5 separate regions of the Homo sapiens genome follow, and all the other regions are linked to region 1. The links are contacts of gene promoters, found by promoter capture Hi-C in blood cells and fetal thymus (Javierre and others, 2016). All regions are on one chromosome and are shown on one strand. The core of a region is centred on a gene start or on the middle of the fragment in contact, and the rest is flanking DNA. Distances in the headings are between cores, read along the strand shown. Region 1 holds the start of MRPL22 (mitochondrial ribosomal protein L22). Region 2 overlaps PTTG1 (PTTG1 regulator of sister chromatid separation, securin). Region 3 overlaps SLU7 (spliceosome associated SLU7). Region 4 has its middle 7.9 kb from the start of PWWP2A. Region 5 overlaps TTC1 (tetratricopeptide repeat domain 1).

What was found. Contacts are between HindIII fragments. The CHiCAGO score rates a contact against its expected background, and 5 or more counts as called.
Region 2: a fragment that was not itself captured here is called in contact with the fragment with the promoter of MRPL22 in region 1 in 4 of 17 cell types (total B cells, fetal thymus, activated CD4 T cells and 1 more); the score reaches 10.0 in total B cells.
Region 3: a contact is called between a fragment that was not itself captured here and the fragment with the promoter of MRPL22 in region 1, in 1 of 17 cell types (naive CD8 T cells). The highest score is 6.4, in naive CD8 T cells.
Region 4: a fragment that was not itself captured here is called in contact with the fragment with the promoter of MRPL22 in region 1 in 1 of 17 cell types (non-activated CD4 T cells); the score reaches 6.5 in non-activated CD4 T cells.
Region 5: a contact is called between a fragment that was not itself captured here and the fragment with the promoter of MRPL22 in region 1, in 1 of 17 cell types (total CD4 T cells). The highest score is 6.1, in total CD4 T cells.

The regions. Positions count from the first base shown.
Region 1 is chr5:154,939,212-154,943,217 of GRCh38, reverse strand. It overlaps MRPL22 (mitochondrial ribosomal protein L22), which reads right to left and starts at 2,145. Exons shown (of 7, transcript NM_014180.4): 1 at 2,080-2,145; 2 at 1,953-2,001. The coding sequence starts at 2,107. RefSeq lists an enhancer at 2,046-2,205. The HindIII fragment of the contact is 1,041 bases long and covers 1,430-2,470 here.
Region 2 is chr5:160,428,594-160,432,599 of GRCh38, reverse strand. PTTG1 (PTTG1 regulator of sister chromatid separation, securin) reads right to left here. Exons shown (of 6, transcript NM_004219.4): 6 at 3,861-3,998. The coding sequence ends at 3,919. Among named protein-coding and RNA genes, the nearest start is that of PTTG1, 8.7 kb to the right of the region's middle. RefSeq lists an enhancer at 81-170. The HindIII fragment of the contact is 153 bases long and covers 2,163-2,315 here.
Region 3 is chr5:160,407,197-160,411,202 of GRCh38, reverse strand. SLU7 (spliceosome associated SLU7) reads left to right here. Exons shown (of 16, transcript NM_006425.5): 7 at 2,506-2,553; 8 at 2,743-2,874; 9 at 3,135-3,232; 10 at 3,390-3,457; 11 at 3,588-3,727. Among named protein-coding and RNA genes, the nearest start is that of FAM200C, 9.1 kb to the right of the region's middle. The HindIII fragment of the contact is 3,120 bases long and covers 405-3,524 here.
Region 4 is chr5:160,125,311-160,129,316 of GRCh38, reverse strand. No RefSeq gene overlaps it. Among named protein-coding and RNA genes, the nearest start is that of PWWP2A, 7.9 kb to the right of the region's middle. The HindIII fragment of the contact is 527 bases long and covers 1,404-1,930 here.
Region 5 is chr5:160,017,576-160,021,581 of GRCh38, reverse strand. The region is part of intron 2 of TTC1 (tetratricopeptide repeat domain 1); the gene reads right to left. It overlaps LOC124901124 (a long non-coding RNA gene), which reads right to left. Exons shown (of 2, transcript XR_007059025.1): 1 at 2,551-4,006. Among named protein-coding and RNA genes, the nearest start is that of TTC1, 10 kb to the right of the region's middle. The HindIII fragment of the contact is 1,261 bases long and covers 1,024-2,284 here.

The DNA of each region.
Region 1 (4,006 bases), core at 896-3,395:
GCAGTGAGCTATGATCACAGCACTGCACTTCAGCCTAGGCACAGAGCGAGACCGTGTCTCCAAAAAAAAAAGGAAAAAAAAGTTTCTCATCACTGAATCAGATTATATGCTAAAATTTTACATGGTTATCATGAACATTATTTATACCTTTCTACTTAGTTTTCTTATGGTCATTTTCCCCACTAGAAAATCCAAAATAAGGATTCACAAAATTATGTAATAACTTCAGAATTGCAAATAGCCTTAGAGATTATCTAGCAAAATCAAACACTCTTGTATCATGACATAGAGGAAAAGACTAAAGGCAAACTGCTTAAGTTTCTTGCTCAGAGCTTCTTAATACAAGTTGGTGCAAGACAATTCAAATCAACATCAAAATACTTGCCTGTGTAAGACCTTATGCTGGAGGTACAACAATAAATAAATGTCCCTACTTCTCCAAGATACACAAGCTAGTAAAGGGCACATACACATATACATGAAGTCATCATAGAAGGCACACATGCTAAAAGGAAGGAAAAACTAATTTCTTTCCGTTTTAGAGAAACCAGTGAAAACTTCCTGAAGGGAAAACATCTGAACAGAGGTTTGAATAATGGGTAGGACTGCTGTTATAGACAAGATGTGAGGGCATAGTAGGAAAAGCCAAGAAGCAAGTAAGTGCAAAGTATATTCAGAAAAAGTAAGTAAATCAGCATGGTTGGGGGAAGAGTGATAGAAGATTATCTAAGAAGAGTACAGACAAATCCTAAGAGCTACTACTTCCTATTTTCTTCTTTAGCCCACCTCTTTATCCCCCTCGGACCCAAAAACTTAGAAAAGGGTTAAATATAATTGGGAACTCAGTAATAATTTATAATAATAAAAACATTAATGGCAACTAGAATTCAGAGTGGGATTATCACATGCCATAAACATACTAAATACTTCATATGCATTATCTTGTTTGAATTTCCTTTTTAAAATCTACTAGAGCTACATAGATGGCATGTGCCTGTAATCCCAGTACTTCAGGAGGCTGAGGCAAGAGAATTGTTTCAGCCCTTAAGTTTGAGACCAGCATGGGCAACATAGCAACACTTCATCTAAAAAAATAAATAAATAAAAATTAAAAAATTTTTTAAATCCTAAGAGATAGGTACTAACATAACGCTCATATCATAAAAGTGATAACTGAAGCTTATTAAGAATAAGTAACTTTTCCAAGATCACAGTTAAAAAATGGATTCATATACAACTCATCTGTCTGCAAAGCCTATGAACTAAACCAAAATCAATGCTAACAAATGGACAGACCAGAAAATTTACAATCAGATTATCAATTTTCAAATACCGATTTTTTATTTTGGGGAGAAATACAGCGACTACTTACCCTAACCTTTAATGAATGCTTTTGTCCTAAGGCTACAGAATGCTCTGGTATAAAGCTTCAAAATTTCCTACAACTGAGTGGCCTTAGGCAAGTTATTTTACGTTTGGGGACTTCAATTTCCTTGTCTGAAAAACGGGTATAGCAGAACCTACTCGTAGAATGTTATGAGAGTGAGTTAAAGCATATAAACCGCTAAACACAATGTCAGGTACGACGTAAAGCAGAGTTGTCCACAACACGGTCCCTGCCCATGTAAGCAAGTAATCAGAGAGGTAACTTGAAAAGTTGGACGCTTCCATATGGAGATGGAATAGTCTAACCTTGTCCAGAAAGATCACAGTAGACGTTCGGAAATCGCATTTACAATCGCCCTTGGGTTATGGGTAATCCTGATCCCTGTACAGTTTATGCAATAAGGTGGAGAAAAAATAGAGTGACAAAGCAGAGACTCGGGCTGTCTCATTCGCCTCAGTAACCCCAGAGCCTAAAACACAGTTAGGCACGGAGGCGCTCAGTTACCAACTGGCAGAATACTAAAGATGCCTTGGGCCCTTCCGAAACTCCGAAGCGAGAGACTCACCCCAAGGCCAGCTTCCCCCGGCTCCTCAGGTTATGTATCCATAACGCACCTGCAACATCAACACAAGCCGTCAACTCAGATTCCATCTCGACTCCCTTCTGTCGCTTAACCACTAAGAAATCCTTACCCAACTGTCCCAGTACTGCCGCCGCCATCTTTCGCCCTCCCGCTACGGAAGCCGCCGAGTTCAAGCGCCTTCTGGACAGCACGCATGCGCAATACTCTGGATTTCCTGTGGGGCTCTCCCACAAGCAGTACTTACACCCCAGGTGCCGTCACGAAGATCGCAAGCACTGGGCCGGCGCTCGAGGTGTGGTCAGGCGAACCTGGCTTGGGAATGAATTAATTAATAAAGGCCGAAAGCACGTGGGCTTCCGAAAATTCACCTGGATTCAGAAAAACTAAAGTCCCAACTCACAAACTAGAAAGGAGTAGGGGAACAGAATCCGTGAACAAGCCACCTAATCCGGTGGTCCTCAGTTTTCTTATCAGAAATGACTAACCTTAGGGCACAAGCTTGTTGTAAAGATCAGTTGAAATAGTGTGAAAGCTATTTTATTTCATTTTATTGAAACAGGGTCTCTCTCTCGCTTAGGCTGGAGTGTGGTAGCAATGACCTAGTCTCACTGCAGCCTCGACCCCGGGCTCAAGCCACCCTCTTACCTCAGCCTCCCAAGTAGCTGTGACTACAGGCGCACATCACCACGCCCGGCTAATTTTTGTATTTTTTATAGATAAGGAGTTTCCCCAAATTGCCCAGGCTGATCTCGAATTCCTGGGCTCAAGCAATCTGCCCTCCTCGGCCTCCCAAAGTGCTAGGATTAGAGGTATGAGCCACGAAACCTAGCCTAAAATCTCTTTTAAAGAGCAAATAGTTCAAATATGATGTATGCTGTCCTAATCCCTACTAATCTGGTTGACCTTCAAGAATGAGTTTATATTCATCTGGCATTTACTGCCTTATGTCAGGCAGGTATTTCACTAAATCTCATTTATTCCTCACAGCAATCCAACAAGGCATGGATTATCATTTTCCTTCTTCAAATGAGGAAACATATTTAGGATATGTTAAAGTCTCTCAACTAACAACTGGCAAACCAGTGATCAATCTACGACTAGGTGCCTCCAAATTTGTGCCCCTAGACGCCTTCAAATATATGTATTTGACCCCTCTGTATTAGAATAACAGGTAGTTCAGATTGCGGTTTGCTACCTATGCAGGAATGTCAGATACCCAATGCAAACAAGCAACACACGAGTAGTGCAGAATCTGAGCATTTTAGCATTTTTGAGTTGAAAGGAAACTTTCTTCCACACCATTTACCACATACAGCTTCCTTCACACAGCTGGCCCTCAATCAAGCAAATCAAGAGTCACTCCATTTGCTTCTCCTTCATCTTTGAGTACCCAGAACCCAGAGCCAGAATTTCCACCCAGTTGCAGAAACTGTTCTTTCCCTTTTTAATTCCAGATTCGTACTTTCATATTTTTGTTTGTTTTGTTTTTTTGAGACAGGGTCTCACTCTATTGCCCAGGCTTGAGTGCAGTGGCTCGATCACAGCTCACACCAGCCTGTCTCCCGGACTCCATATTGTAATGCCCAACCTTGTTTTTACTAACCCTGTTTTTAGACTCTCCCTTTTTCCTCTGATCACCTAGCCTTGTTTCCACTTGAATTGACTCTTGCTTAGCTAAGAGAGCCAGACAGACTCCATCTTGGCTCTTTCACTGGCAGCCCCTTCCTCAAGAACTTAACTTGTGCAAGCTGACTCCCAGCACATCCAAGATGCAATTAACTGATAAGATACTGTGGCGAGCAATATCCGCAATTCCCAGGAATTCGTCTGATTGATAGCACCCAAAGCCCCCAGTCTATCACCTTGTAATAAATAGTCTTAAAGCCCCTGCACCTGGAACTGTTTACTTTCCTGTAACCATTTATCCTTTTAACTTTTTGCCTACTTTATTTCTGTAAAATTGTTTTAACTAGACTCCCCTCCCCTTTCTAAACCAAAGTATAAAAGAAAATCTAGCCTCTTCTTCCGGCTGAGAG
Region 2 (4,006 bases), core at 990-3,489, 5.5 Mb before region 1:
TTATACCTGGGCTTGGTGGGGCACAGACAGACAGGTGACCAGGAACTGTCTAGGGTAGGAGAAGCTGACCTCCTAGACCTGTGCCTGCCCCCACCACTCTCTCTCTGGAAACCTTGAAGTCAGGCTCCCTGGCCCTGATACCGTGTGATGCTAACAGTGGGTACAGTGCAGTCGCTGGGTCTCTAGAAACCTGGATCCCCAGGGACTGATGACATCTTTACTCATTTCAGCAAGTCCCTGAAGCACCTGCCACATGCCAGGCAGAGAATACACCAGTGCACAGGACACACCTCATCCTGCTCCCAGTAGAGCGGAGGAGAGGACCAGACACAGCCGAGCATGGTAAGTGCAAAGGCTTCTGGTAAGAAAAGCATCTCATTGGAGTACTAGAGATGGACAGGTTTGGCCAGGTGAATCAGGACAGGAAATTACACCCCCAAGGAGCCACCACAAGGCCGTGTGAGCCACACTGAGCAACTCAGACTTCATCCTGGTGGCAGAGGGACATCATTCCAAAGTAAATGAAGTGGGGAATGAGTGCTTGATGAGCATGGGTTTATTTTTGGGGGTGATGAAAGTGTTCTGAAATTAGACAGTGGTGATAGTTGCATATACTCTGAACTAAAAGCCACTGAATTGTACATTTTTAAATGAATTTTCTTATGTGAATGTTACCTCAAAAAAAAAAAAAAGGCCGGGCATGGTGGCTCACGCCTGTAATCCAAGCACTTTGGGAGGCCAAGGCCGGCAGATCACGAGGTCAGGAGATCGAGACCATCCTGGCGAACACGGTGAAACCCTGTCTCTACTAAAAATACAAAAAAAAAAAAAATTAGCTGGGCGTGGTGGTGGGCGCCTGTAGTCCCAGCTACTCGGGAGGCTGAGGCAGGAGAATGGCATGAACCCGGGAGGTGGAGTTTGCAGTGAGCCAAGATTGCACCACTGCACTCCAGCCTGGGCGACAGAGCAAGACTCCGTCTCAAAAAAGAAAAAAAATGAAAGGAATATCTAGAAGGAACTTTCAATTCCAATCAAGATGGAGTAACAGGGACCAGATTTACTCTCCTGCCTGAAACTAAAAAACAAGACAAAATATATGAAATGAGGGCTGCCCAAAGAGTGAACATCAGGCGACAGAGAACAGCGATGCCTGAGGAATGTGAAATAAGTGAGGTGAGGCCGATGACTATCCTTACTGGCTACTTTTGAGTTTCCAGGCCTCAGAGTGGGGAAGAAAGGGAGGCAGGCAGAGCCCAGTGAATTTCCTGAGTTGAAGAGACAGAGCAGAGTCAGGCCAAGGCAGGCCAAGTTTGCAGAGCAGAGCACTGGAGAGGAGAGAGCTGCACAGAGAGAACCCTGGAAATTTGCAGAGGGTCTCCCTGTAGTATTCAGAAGAGCACTGATCCATATAGCTGAAAAGATCAGAGGGAAGAATTCCTGAAGCCCACACAGGGCTGGGAATAGTGTCTGCTCCCACCAGCTAGACAGGAAAACCTCATAATTCAGGGGGCAGCAGAGTCCTAAGCATCTCACACTTCAGTAGTAGGGGGAAATGAGCCCTGGGCTAAATGCTGCTCTGGTGATGCCTAACATTAAAGGCAAGTCTCAAATGAATCAAATTGCTTCTAGGTACCTTACCCATACTCTAGAACAAAGTTTAAGAATATTAATAGAAATGTAAAAATACCCAGCATGAAAAAAGGTAAAATCCATGGCTGGCATGGAAAGTAGAAAAATACAACTTGTAATAAGAAAGAAGAAATGGTAGCAAGATAATGGCATTCCTGACTGTTAGCTCCTACTATAAGAAGGTACAGTATCCTGAGAGGCAGGCTCAGAGGTAGTGTAGAGAAATGCAGAAGGTTTACAGAGTTGTAAAGGTATGAATAAAGTCTGTCTTATTTCAAAAAGTGTCAGAACAAAATAGCAACAACCCCCACAAGATGCAAATTATCTGTATTAATGGAGGAGCATCTGCTTAAAGTTCTCAGTCTCAGCACACATTATGCACATTGCAATCTGATTAACAGCAGATGAAAAGATCAGATCCCTCTATACTCAGTTCTGACCCAGAGGACGGCAATTAACTGGTAAGGGACTGACTAGTCCCCTTGCTCCCAGCCCTTGGTTCCCTCTACCACAAAAGACAATTTTCCAAAGCTTCAGTTTGTGTTGCAGAGTATGAAAGCCATTCAGAACTACACTTTGCTTTTTTTGTTGTTTTTGTGAGACAGCATCTCACTCTACCACCCAGGCTACTCTACCACCCACTTTACCACCCAGTGGCATGACTATAGCCACTCAAGTTGTAAGCTTGAACTCCTGGGCTCAAGCAATCCTCCTGCCTCAACCTCCTGAAACTAGGACTACAGGCATGCGCCACCACACCCGGCTAATTATTTTTAATTTTTGAGAGACAAGGGTCTCACTACATGGCCCAGGTTGAACCCAAGCTCCTGGGATCAAGCAGTCCTCCCACCTCAAACTCTCAAGTGCTGGGATTACTGGTGTGAGCCACTGTGTCCAACCTATACTTTGGTTTTCTTAGCAGCCCTATTTTACCTGAGGATGCTAAACCTATTACTCTCCCCTAAAGCCAAGTGCCCTAGTAGTCTTATGGTATTATCTTCTCCTAGAAGTCTGCCTTTCCACTAATTCCAGAAAGTCACACTGATTCAGTTGTATTTAGAAGGTAAAAAGTTTTAAAGTCAGGATAAGCGGTTGTAGGTGTTCTTAGTATTTCATGCCTAATATCCTTCAGCTTCCTCCAATGACAATGGCAAAGTGTTCACATTCTAACTTGACCATAGAAGCTACTGATATATCAAGGGAAAGACTTCTTATATAACTTAGCATCAAGCAAGGGTCAAATTCAGGTTACTACATGGCCCAAGCGAGTAAAGTGAGTTAAGTAGGCTAGGTCTCAGAAGAGACATGAAAGGTAAAAGGATCACTTCAGTTCTCACTGAGGCCATTTAAGGCAGGGTCTGTGGGATAGAAAGCCTATACTCCACCTAAAAGGCAGCAGCCTGCAATCTACCTCCAGCCCCAGCAAGTGTTGGAAACAGGGTCTACTATGGACACATCTCTTTTCAAGAGAATCTCCAAAGCCAGATTGGTGAAACACTGGAATTTTAAATAGTGGAAATGATTAAGGTTTTTAAAATATCCACCCCCTCCCTCAAAAAGAAAACCTATGAGCAACCATTTGCCATCTCTATTTTGATTCCAACCTCAGAACTGAGATCAAAATACCAGCTCTAATAATTTTCTAGCTCTTCACATCTTTGACAAATCAATGAACTTCTGCGCTTCATTGTCTTACCTGGGAAAGTGTCAAACATTAAACATAATAATGCTTCTCAAATACTCATGTCCAACACAAGGTAAACAACTAAATACAGTTTCCTATAGGTGGAGTGTAGACCTTACTATCAGTAAATTATCTCCAGTGATCTTTAAGGAATCTAATTGAAGATCCCAAGGAGGCTGAATTCTCAGATTTAGAGCCTTTCAATACTGAGTATTAAAGTCATTAGAAACTAAGTAGAACCGGCAATAAAGAATGCCCAGCAATAGATACTTAATGAGTTGGAAGTAGCTCTTCTAATTAAGAGATCTAATAACTGTCACTAGTTAATGGCCACAAAAAGTCAATAAAGTACACATTGAGGGGTATACTTTTCAGGAAAAAACAGTGGCAGCTTCTAAAATAAGCTGTTAAACCAAAAAGATTTAAGTTTTTAGACATCAGACAAATCTCTATTGTCACATTATAGACTCTTTGTTAAACACCTCAGCTAGCTTTCATGTTATTTTAAGTAACCTCCATGGAAAAGCAACCACAATACTAGGAAGAATCTGTTAAAGAATGCTTTATTAATACAAATACACACAAACTCTGAAGCACTAAGAAATTTAAATATCTATGTCACAGCAAACAGGTGGCAATTCAACATCCAGGGTCGACAGAATGCTTGAAGGAGACTGCAACAGATCTAGAAAA
Region 3 (4,006 bases), core at 715-3,214, 5.5 Mb before region 1:
CATGAGACATACATGCTCTTAGAAAAGTGAATTTGCCGGCCGGGCGCGGTGGCTGACGCCTATAATCCGAGCACTTTGGGAGGCCAAGGCGGGTGGATCCCAAGGTCAGGAGATCGAGACCATCCTGGCTAACACGGTGAAACCCCGTCTCTACTAAAAAATACAAAAAATTAGCCAGTCGCGGTGGCGGGCGCCTGTAGTCCCAGCTACTCGGGAGGCTGAGGCAGGAGAATGGGTGAACCCAGGAGGCAGAGCTTGCAGTGAGCCAAGATCATGCCGCTGCACTCCAGCCTGGGCGACAGAGTGAGACTCCGTCTCAAAAAAAAAAAAAAGTGAATTTGCCTCTCTGAGCTGCAGTTTAGTATGTCTGAAATAGAAATGATAACACCTACCCCCAGGAAGCTTATATACATATCACATAGTAAACACTGGGTAATTAGTAGCTATTATTGTTGTGATTATTTTTATTTATTACTAACTTTGGGAAAAGAAAAAGGGCCTGTTTCTTTTGTTCTAATGTATTCTCTGTTGTTTGTTGTAAACGTAATGTAATTTATTTCCCCAGTAAGGATACTTAATGTATGTAAGGGGCTAATGATTTTTGCCCACTTGGATGCTTGGATTATTTTTTTTTTATATACTTTAAGTTTTAGGGTACATGTGCACAACGTGCAGGTTTGTTACGTATGTATACATGTGCCATGTTGGTGTGCTGCACCCATGAACTCGTCATTTAGCATTAGGTATATCTCCTAATGCTATCTCTCCCCGCTCCCAGGATGCTTGGATATTAAGATGAACCACATACAGTAGATTTAGAGACTTAGCTGTCACTATAGAAATGTATGTAAATGTCTTTGGTGAACTAGCAAATAGTGGGAACTCAAAAAAATTATTTTTTACAAAATATTTATATTTCTAATTTTGAAAGTAACACATATTAAGTGGAAAAAAATTAGAACATAATATAAAAAAGAAAATATCCCTGTGTTAATTGTGAACATTTTGAAGTAGGCCTTTCCAGGTCTCTCTTGTCCACATATACCTGTTCATGTGTGCTAGAATACAAAATGTTTCTTACATGAATCCATCTTTATATATTCATTTATTACCTTCTTTTTTAATTTAACAACATAGAGTACAGTGGGAACGTGTTTTCTGTCTATATTTATAGACCTATAGCATCATTTATTTTTGTATGAATTCACATGGCTCAAAAATTAAAACAATTTAAGAAGATGCACAGCGAAGTCTCTCCACCCCTGTTTCTATCCACCCTAACACTAAACTTCCCCTCGCCCCAACTCTTTTGTGTATGTGTGTGGCTCCTTTCAGACTGTCTTGAATAAATACAAATACAAATATATACCCTTATCCTATCTGTCTCTCCCCTCCCCTTTTTTTAATCAAAAAAGTTAGGAAACGATACATACTTTTCTGCCCCTTGGATAGAATCACTTTTAATGGCCGTTCAGTGTTCCATGGAGTGCAATACATTATATAACCAGTGATCTATTAATTTGATTTTTTCCCAGTGTTTTGAAAAAACATTGCACATATACAACACTGCACATCACATTCTTATACATCTTTATATAATTGACATGATACTAGGATAACCTTCTAGAAGTGTATTTCAGTGAGTTTGTATTTCTAAAATTTTTATGACATATCACTTAGCCATCATTCAGAAAAGCCATGCAGATTTATGCTTCCATCTATATAGTATATATACATACACGTGTTTCTGCATCTCCTCACTAATGCTATAATGTATTCTCTTTTTTTTTAAGTATTTTTAATCTTTGAAGCCTTTATGAAGGGACATGATGAAATACCACGTTAGTGTAGGCATTCTGTGGAGTTAGAAAGTATTCTGACCAATTGCTAGCGAAGAAAAGTGTATCCTTGTGACAAGGAGTTTGGCCTCTCCTTAAATTACAATACTGTGTCACTTGTAGATTTTTTTCATTGCCCAAACTTCACTTTGGCTGTGAAGACATGAACCCAGTAATATTTTCTTTTTGGACTTACTAGGAAACTAGTAACGTTTAATGAATACAGTATGTCTGAAGACTAACACATTTAGAAATTAATATTTATTGGGTACTTTGGACATCTTAATCTTTCTGTTACCATTTTGTGGTTATAATCTTAATTAAAATTCTCTTGAAATTTGCTGGCTTTATAGACAGTGTAATAAAATTATTTACAATGGCACTCTTGTATTCAGAATTTTTGCGCTCATTATAACTGAGAAGTGTGAGAGTTTGTTCAGTTAGAATTAAGTTTTATTATCTTAATACTTATTTATAAGTTACATATTATATATTATATAATAAATATTTATTATATATAATATAAATATAATATATAATAAAATATATTTTATTATATAAATATATTATTTATAATAAGATAATAATACTTTATTATCTTAATAATAAAGTTAATTGGATTAAGTGGAATGAGATTATGAATGATTTTTCTTCTTTCATGATGCAGAATTCTCCAAAACACCAGTGGGGAGAAGAGGAACCAAATTCTCAGATGGTAATACATATTTGCTGTCTCTGAGTATATGTTAAATTTTTAAATTTCTGATGGCTAATAATAAATAACACTAATAATAGCTTTTAAAGAACACAAGTAAATAAGGGTTTGGTTAAAGGGAAAGGGGAAAAAAAAGAACTACATGCTGCTTTCTTTTCTTCTTACTTTTCCTTCCTCTCCCTCTTTTAGGAAAAAGATCATAATAGTGAAGATGAGGATGAAGATAAATATGCAGATGATATTGACATGCCTGGACAGAATTTTGACTCCAAGAGACGAATTACTGTCCGGAATCTCAGGATTCGAGAAGATATTGCAAAAGTAAGTCTTGTCAGCTTAACATACATATTTGAAAAATACTTGTCTTCCCAGCATAAATTTTATCGACTCTGGGTAGCATATGGATAATATAGTCAGAGTCATTCTAAGATAAGGTTTCATTCTGTTTTTTCTCTTCACCTGAACCCCAGAAATGTATACACACATTTATTTAATTGATCATGTTCAACTCCTCCAACTAGTCTGCTGAAATCTTTTTGCTGTGAGTAAACATTAATTCTTTAAATATTTTTTTCTTCTAGTATTTGAGGAATTTAGATCCAAATTCTGCCTACTATGATCCAAAAACTAGAGCAATGAGAGAGAATCCTTATGCCAATGCAGGAAAGAATCCAGATGAGTAAGTATCAAGTTAAATGTACAGATTTTAAGATGAGAGAAAGTTAATTGTTTTCTGACCTGACCATAGATGGTGTTCATTTTAATTCAGATTCAGTTTTACGAATTAATTTTCCTTAAATCAATCTCTGAAACATTTTCTTTATTTGTATTTACAGAGTGAGTTATGCTGGAGATAACTTTGTTAGGTACACAGGAGATACCATTTCAATGGCTCAGACACAGTGTAAGTGTTTCCTCTATGTCAAGCCATTTTATATCAGCTCATAAGACGTTTGGGATTGTTTAAAGCTTGTTTTCAAGAAGCATACAGTAATGCAGCTGCCAACTCACTAAGATGTTTTGAATTACTCTAGTGTTTGCATGGGAAGCCTATGACAAGGGATCTGAAGTGCATCTACAGGCAGATCCTACAAAGCTAGAGCTGTTGTATAAGTCCTTCAAAGTCAAAAAAGAAGATTTCAAAGAACAGCAGAAAGAAAGCATCCTGGAAAAGGTAATTTTGACCAAAATGCTAAAGAAGAACTTCTGTTAAAGAGAAGTTACTAGTTAATAAGCGTTAGTTTTACATTTGGAAAATAATGCAAAGAGAGCCCTCTTAATCCATGAAGAATAGTCCTTTTCTTCCTTTCTCTTAGTCAGATGGTAATTTTGTATGAGCTTTTGCAGCAAAACAAGCTACCTCAAATCTTAATAGCTTAAAATAAACATTTATTGTTTCTCACAGTTGGCCAAGTCTCCTGGTCTGGGCTTGCTCAGCTGAGGTTAGATGATG
Region 4 (4,006 bases), core at 418-2,917, 5.2 Mb before region 1:
TGGGATTATAGGCGTGAACCACCGCACCCAGCAGCATCCCACTTTTAACACTGAAAGTCCTGCATGCCAGGAAACCCCTCAGTCCCAGGCAAACCAAATGGTTCACCTAGAACCACCCCCTCCACAGTGGTGCCTGTGGGGTCAATTTTTGAGGAATTATGTTGACATGGGAATTGTTAGGAATATACAAAGAAAAAGGGGGAGCTGTGTGAAAGGACACCCGAAGACTATGGGCAAAATGTTTCAGGATAGGACCCACATTTTATTACTTGATTCCCCCAAGCTCATCTGGTGGCTGTCTCTGCCTGACACATAGTGCTCATAAATGGCTGGATTAATGTTGGCTCTTATTATGGAGATTGTCCTTAATATTGAAATTTACCTTTGTAATATGATGGCTCTTTCACCTGTGGTGTGAAGTGAGAATCTGTTATCAGAAGCAGGTGGTAAGGGATGTGTGGTATCCATATAGAGCAGGAAGTTTTATTTATTTATTTATTTATTTATTTATTTATTTATTTGAGATGGAGTTTCGCTCTTGTTGCCCAGGCGGGAGTGCAATGGCGTGATCTTGGCTCGCCACAACCTCTGCTTCCTGGGTTCAAGCGGTTCTCCTGCCTCAGCCTCTCAGTAGCTGGGATTACATGCGCCCACCACCACGCCTGGTTAATTTTTGCATTTTTAGTAGAGATGGGGTTTCACCATGTTGGCCAGGCTGGTCTCGAACTCCTGATCTGAGGTCATCTGCCTGCCTCAGCCTCCCAAAGTGCTGGGATTACAAGCATGAGTCACCGTGCCCAGCCCATTTGAAATCTTTTGTTTTCATTTCTTCAAACTTTTAAGTTGTGTGGTATCAGTTTCTGAAATTGCTCTCAGTGATCCCTGCCTCTTGGCATACATGCCCTTGTGGAATCCTCTCTCCTTGTAAATAGCTGGACCTGGTGACTTGCTTCTGAACAGAGTGCAGCAAAAGTGCTGGGATGCCTCTTCTGAGATCACACGACAAAATACTGCGACTTCTTTCTTGCTTACACCAATTTTTCCTCTGGCTCTTCTTGTATGCTTACTCTGACAAAGCAAGTTGCATGTTTTGAGCTGTCCTATGGAGCAGACCCACGTGGCAATTAGTTGAGGGCAGCCTCTGGTCAACAGCCACCAAGGAACTGAATCCTATAAATCAGGGGTGTCCAATCTTTTGGCTTCCCTGGGCCACACTGGAAGAAGAAGAATTGGGCCACACATAAAATACACTACACTAACAAAAGCTGAAGAACAACGACAACAACAACAACAACAACAACAACAACAAAAAACACCACAAAAAAAATCTCATAACGTTTTAGGAAAGTTTACAAATTTGCGTTAGGCTGCGTGTGGCCCATGGGCCGCTGGTTGAACAAGCTTGCTGTAGATGAAAATGTGAGTTACCTTGGAAATGGACTTTCAAAATACATATGCCCAAATATAAATATTTTGGAAGAAATTTATCATAAGGAATTGGATCACTTGATTGTGGAGGCTGAGAAGTTGCGTAAACTGCCATGTGCAAGCTGGGGACCCAAGAAAGCCTGGTGTTATTCCAGTCCAGGTCCAAATGCCTGAGAATCTGGGGAGTTGATGATGTACATCCCAGTACAAGGACAGGAGCAGACTAATGTTCCAGCTCCAACAGGCAGGCAGGCAGGCAGCAAAAGAAGTGAATTCCTTCTTCCTCTGCCTTTTGCTCTATTCAGCCTCTCAACAGATTGGATGATGCCCACCCACACTGCTGAGGGCCATCCACTTTACTGAGTCCACTGATTCAAATGCTAATCTCATCTAGAAACATTCTCTCAACACCCCAGAAATATGGTTTAATCTGGGTACCCCTTGGCTCAGTCAAACTGGTACGTAAAATTAATCATCATATGGATCCTTCCCTAGTTAAGCTTTCAGATGAAACCACACCCCCAGCTGACACCTTGATATGTAGCCTTGTGAGAGACTGAAAGAGAGGATTTTGCTGGGCACAGTGGCTCATGCCTGTAATCCTAGCACTTTGGGAGGCTGAGGCAGGTGGATCACAAGGTCAGGAGATCGAGACCATCCTGGCTAAGATGGTGAAACCCTGTCTCTACTAAAAATACAAAAAAATTAGCCAGGCATTGTGGCGGGCACCTTTAGTCCCAGCTACTTGGAAGGCTGAGGCAGGAGAATGGCATGAGCCCAGGAGGCAGAGCTTGCAGTGAGCCGAGATCGTGCCACTGCACTCCAGCCTGGGTGACAGAGCGAGAATCCGTCTCAGGAAAAAAAAAAAAGAAGAGAGAGGACTTAGTTAAGCCTTGCCTAGGTTTCTCACTCTGAGCATGGTGATGAAATAAATGTATGTTGTTAAGACACTAATACCACTAGCAGATATAGATAACTGATATAAATTTACTTACAGAAAAGTACACGTAAGTGCAGAGCTTGATGAATCATTACAAGCTGAACATACTTGTGTATCCAGTACCCAGATCAAGAATCAGAAATTATCAGAACCCCAGAAAGCACCATTCATATTCTCTTTCCGTCACTAGCTGTGCTGCTCCCCATCATCTCCTATCAAGAGTAACCCCCATCCCGACTTCAAACAGCATAAATTTGTTTTGTTTGGTTTTGTACCATATATAAATAGTATCGGTCAGGTACAGTGGCTCATGTCTGTAATCCCAGCACTTTGGGAGGCCAAGGTGGGCAGATCACTTGAGGTCAGGAATTCAAGACCAGCCTGGCCAACATGGTGGAACCCTGTTTCTACTAAAAATACAAAATACAAAAATTATCCAGGCGCGGTAGCAAGCACCTATAATCCCAGCTACTCGGGAGGCTGAGGCGTGAGAATCACTTGAACCCAGGGGCTGGAGGTTGCAGTGAGCTGAGATCACACCACTGCACTCTAAACTGGGTGACAGAGCAAGACTCTGTCTCAAAAAAAAAAATCATATAATATGCACAAAATAACTTTTTAGCAGATTCTCAGAGAGTTCCCCCTATACATGATACATTCAGAACTACTGACTGACACACACACACACACACAGAGGCAGAGGCAGAGATGACAAATGACATATTTGTCATTAGTTACCCATCACAGCCTTGGTCTGGGAGCAGGTGATCTAATTCCAGAAGATAATTTTTTATTTTTTTTATTTTTTTTTTTTATTTTGAGACAGAGTCTTGCTCTGTTGCCCAGGCTGGAGTGCAATGGCGTGATCTTGGCTCACCACAACCTCTGCCTCCCCGGTTCAAGTGATTCTCCCATCTCAGCCTCCTGAGCAGCTGGGATTATAGACACCCACCACCACGCCCGGCTAATTTTTGTATTTGTAGTAGAGACGGGGTTTCACCATGCTGGCCAGGCTGGTCTCAAACTCCTGACCTCAGGTGATCCACCTGCCTCAGCCTCCCAAAGTGTTGGGATTACAGGCGTGAGCCACCACGCCTGGCCTAGAAGAGAAATATTGATTACCTCATCAGAAATAGGCCCAGAACACGAGGAGCAATTCACTCAGCCCCTATGGTTTGATGGCCATGTTCCCCATGTTATCTTCTGTCTATAATTCTATTTCCTGAGAAACCAGGCCCAGAGATAACCACTAAGCCATATTTAGCCATAGTTATTCCTCTCCAGGGACCAATACCCTTGTGTTTGGGTTTTTACTTAGACTTACTCAAGTTTGGTTATTGAGGATCAGCACCCCTTGAGTATGATCAACCACAGATACAAGAATGAGTTTTTGGACTTAGTTGCTAACAACTATTGAACTATTTTTGCTATAATTGAAGGTCTACGCTAATTATTTATATATGTTACATAAATAAAAAAGCAGACCAGGCTGGGTGCAGTAGCTCATGCCTATAACCCCTGCACTTTGGGAGGCTGAGGTGGGCAGATCACCTGAGGTCAGGAATTTGAGACCAGCCTGGCCAACATGGAGAAACCCCATCTCTACTAAGAATACAAAAAGTAGCTGTGCATGGTGGT
Region 5 (4,006 bases), core at 405-2,904, 5.1 Mb before region 1:
CCTCTCAGTAGGTGTTATCCTTCTGAGGAAAAAAATGACTGATCTATGAGGAATTAATCTTGGAAATAGTCCCTTGTTTCTTAAATCAGAAAATTCTATTTCCCAAAACTCAATCTTTAACAGAAATAAATTTTCTATGTCAGGACTGCTTAAATTCGGCCCAACAAGTTGTTTTTAGACCTTGATCAACGGATGTAGGTAAAAGAAAACCTCCTATTCAGTTCTTCCGATGTTGGATGCAGTCAATGTACGGGTTAGGTCAATACTTCTTGTTTTGGAAGCTTAGTCATCTGTGTCCATCTGGATCTGTTTCCCATGGTGTGGCCACAGTTCTTCCTATATCAAAATTACCTGGGAGGCTTGCTAACAAAACAGATGCCTGGTTGTTGCCTCACAGGTGTGTGGTGTCAGACACTTCTCAGGCTGTGCATGGTTAATACATTTCCTGTGATGCTTAGACACAATAAAGTCTGGAAACCACTGATCTACACAAAGTGACCTTTCTTAATAAACACAGGAAATACTGAACGTCATTTTAACTTTTCTGCCAGCAAATAATGTAAACACACCTCACTAACTTCCAAATGTTTTAGAGCAGCGGTCCCTACCCTTTTTGGCACCAGGGACTGCTCTTGTGGGGAACTATTTTTCCACGGACTAGGGTCTTGGGGAAGGGGGTGTTCATAATGATTCAAGCACATTACATTTATTGTGTACTTTATAATTATTAAACTGTAATATATAATCAAATAGTTATACAATTCACCATAATGTAGAATCAGTGGGAGCCCTAAGCTTGTTTTCCTGCAACTAGACGGTCCTACCTGGGGGTGATGAGAGACAGTGATAGACTATCAGGCATTAGATTCTTGTAAGGAGCAGGCAACACAGATCCCTTGCATGTGCAATTCACAACAGGGTTCACAAGCCTACGAGAATCTAATGCTACCATGGATATGACATGAGGTGGAGCTCAGACAGTAATGCAAGCGATGGGAAGTGGCTGTAAATACAGATGAAGCTTCGCTCACTAGCCTGCTGCTCACTTCCTGCTGTGTGGCTGGGTTCCTTACAGGCCACAGACTGGTATCAGTACATGGCCGGGGGTTGACGACCCCTGTTTTAGAGCAAGCAACCCTTATTTCCACTGGTTTAAACTTAGCATCAGGCCAGGCAGGGTGGTTCATTCCTGTAATCCCAGCACTTTGGGAGGCCAAGTGAAAGGGCCTCTACAAAAATAAAAATAAACAAACTTGGGATCAGAAATCTAAGCTCCTTCTAGGATTTGATTTAATCGTTTGTAGACAGCATTAAGTTCAACAGTGGTAACTCTAAGAAGTTGGTAAAACTGACCACCTTAGTTCCAAAGGATGCCTATTAGAAATGAAAGAAAAGGAGGCTGGGGCGGGCGGATCACTTGAGGTCAGGAGTTCGAGACCAGCCTGGCCAACATGGTGAAACTCCGTCTCTACTAAAAATACAAAAATTAGCTGGGTGTGGTGGTGGGCACCTGTAATCCCAGCTACTTGGGAGGCTGAGGCAGGAGAATCACTTGAACCTGGGAGGCAGAGGTTGCAGTGAACCAAGATCATGCCACTGTACTCCAGTCTGGGCGACAGGGCAAGACTCTGTCTCAAAATAAACAAACAGAAAACAACAACAACAAAAAGAAAACAAGAAATGAAAGAAAAGGGAGGCAGGAGGCAGGGCACAGTGGCTCATGCCTATAATCCCAGAACTTTGGGAGGCCGAGGTGGGTGGATCATGATGTGAGTTCGAGACCAGCCTGGCCAATATGGTGAAACCCAGTCTCTAGTAAAAATACAAAAATTAGCTGGGTGTGGTGGCACACGCCTGTAGCCCCAGCTACTCGGGAGGCAGAGAGAGAATCGCTTGAATCCGGGAGGCGGAGGTTGCAGTGAGCAGAGATCGCACCGCTGCACTCCAGCTTGGGCAACAGAGAGGGAATATCCATCTCAAAAAAAAAAAAAAAAAAAAAAAGAATGAAAGAAAAGGGAAACAACAAAATCAGAAAGGTTGCTCATGACGTTAACAGGACTATGCAGGCCACTATGGAAGAAGTTACTGAGAACTTTTTGGAAGCAATCGAGAGTATTCCCTGCAAACACATCCACAGCCACAACATTAATTAGATTATGAAAATGGTGCAATAGGGTGGCAGAAACATGGAAATCCAAAAGATTAAGTAATGTGGAATTTAGGAAAAATGACAGAGGGAAGAGACTGAAATATAACATCTGTTCTAAACTGAAACTTCTAAGCTTTGATAATGGTTCCTAAAGAGAAAATGACCTTAAAGAATAATCCTTAAAACTTTCAGAGCCTAATGTTTTAAAATCCCAGATACCAGGCATTCTGAATCCATGTTCACCAAGCAACAGACTTTTGGATCCCTTATGTGTACATGTAAATGAATACCATTTGCAAACCACTAGTGAAAGGGAGCAAACCCATTGAAATGACTAAATCTGCATTTTGGCTTACAAATAAAAAATGTTTGTTTGCAGGAAAGAATTAAATCACCAGAACCTGGATAAGTTCAAAGTTCCTTCATCTTCTTCATATTAATAAAGGCCACACCATCCATCCAGTAGCTGAAGACAAGGAATCATTCTAACGTCTCACTCCATCCCGCCAATCGAATCCACTGCAATGTGTGGTCTGCTTTACCTCTGAAATATATCCCAAAATCATACACTTCTCTTCAGATCCACAGTTCAAGCTACTATCATCTTCACTGGGCTACTGCATTAGAGCCTAATTGGGCTCAAATGTTCTATTCATGTCCCTCCTCCATCCTCATACCCCTCCATTCTCTGTATAAGAACTGAATTCTCTTATTAAAATGTAAATAACTTCCGTCTCTCCCTGGCTTAAAATTATCCATCTGTTTCCTTCTGCACTTGGAAAAAACTTCAAGTTCTTTACTACGGCTTAGGAACTATTCCATAATCAGACCCTTGCCTACTATCAGCCCACTCTCTTCCTTAATCATCATGCTTCAGCCATCGGCTCTTCCATTCCTTGAACATGCCAAAACACCAAACTTGTTGTTACTTTAGGGCTTTATTCAACTGCTCTCTTTGTCTGCAATGCTTCCCTCTCAGACGGTCACACATTTGGCTGCTCCCAGTGCCACCCTCCCCTAAGTCTCTGTTGAGAGGCCACCTCTCCAGAGAGGCTTTCCTGACCAGCCAATCTAAAGCAGTCCTCTCCACCTGTCTTAGTCAGGTTGCTATAACAAAATAACAGACTCAGTAATTTATAAATAATAGAAATTTATTTTGCACAGCTCTAGGGGCTGGAAATTCCAAGATCAAGGCACCAGCAGATTTCGCGTCTGGTAAGGGGCTTGTTCTTTGCTTCAATATGGTGCCTTCTTTCTGCATCCTCACTTTGTGGAAGGGGAGTAGAAGGGCCCAACAGGTTCCCTCAAGTCTTTTATTGGTATACTTTATAAGGATACTAATTCTTCTAATCACCTTCTAAAGGCTCCACCTCTTAATACTACACATTGAGGATTAAGTTCAACATGAATTTTGGAGGAAAACATTCAAACCATAGCACCATCCTTCCAACCCAACCCATCCTTCATGTTAACATTTTGTCCTAATTCTCCAATGAGAGAACAGAAACCCTGTCTTGTTCACCACTGTATCCCTCAGGGCCTCAAACAATGTCTAGTGGGTGGAAGAAATGTAAATATTACTTGAATAAATGTGAGAAAAAAATTTCTGTAACTTATAAGGCCAATTATTGGCTCTCATGGGGGAGAAAAAGATGCTATTCATTCAACAGCTATTTAATGAAGGAAGATTGTGCAAAACCTGTGACAGTGGTCCTCAAGCCTCAGCATGTGCATATGAATTACCTAGGAAATTTACACATGAGACCTAAGAAACTGCACTGTGACAAGCAGTCCATAAAAGGCGATTTTCTTATGGAATCAATACTAGCATTCTGCAGTATGTGCCATAGGTCCTAA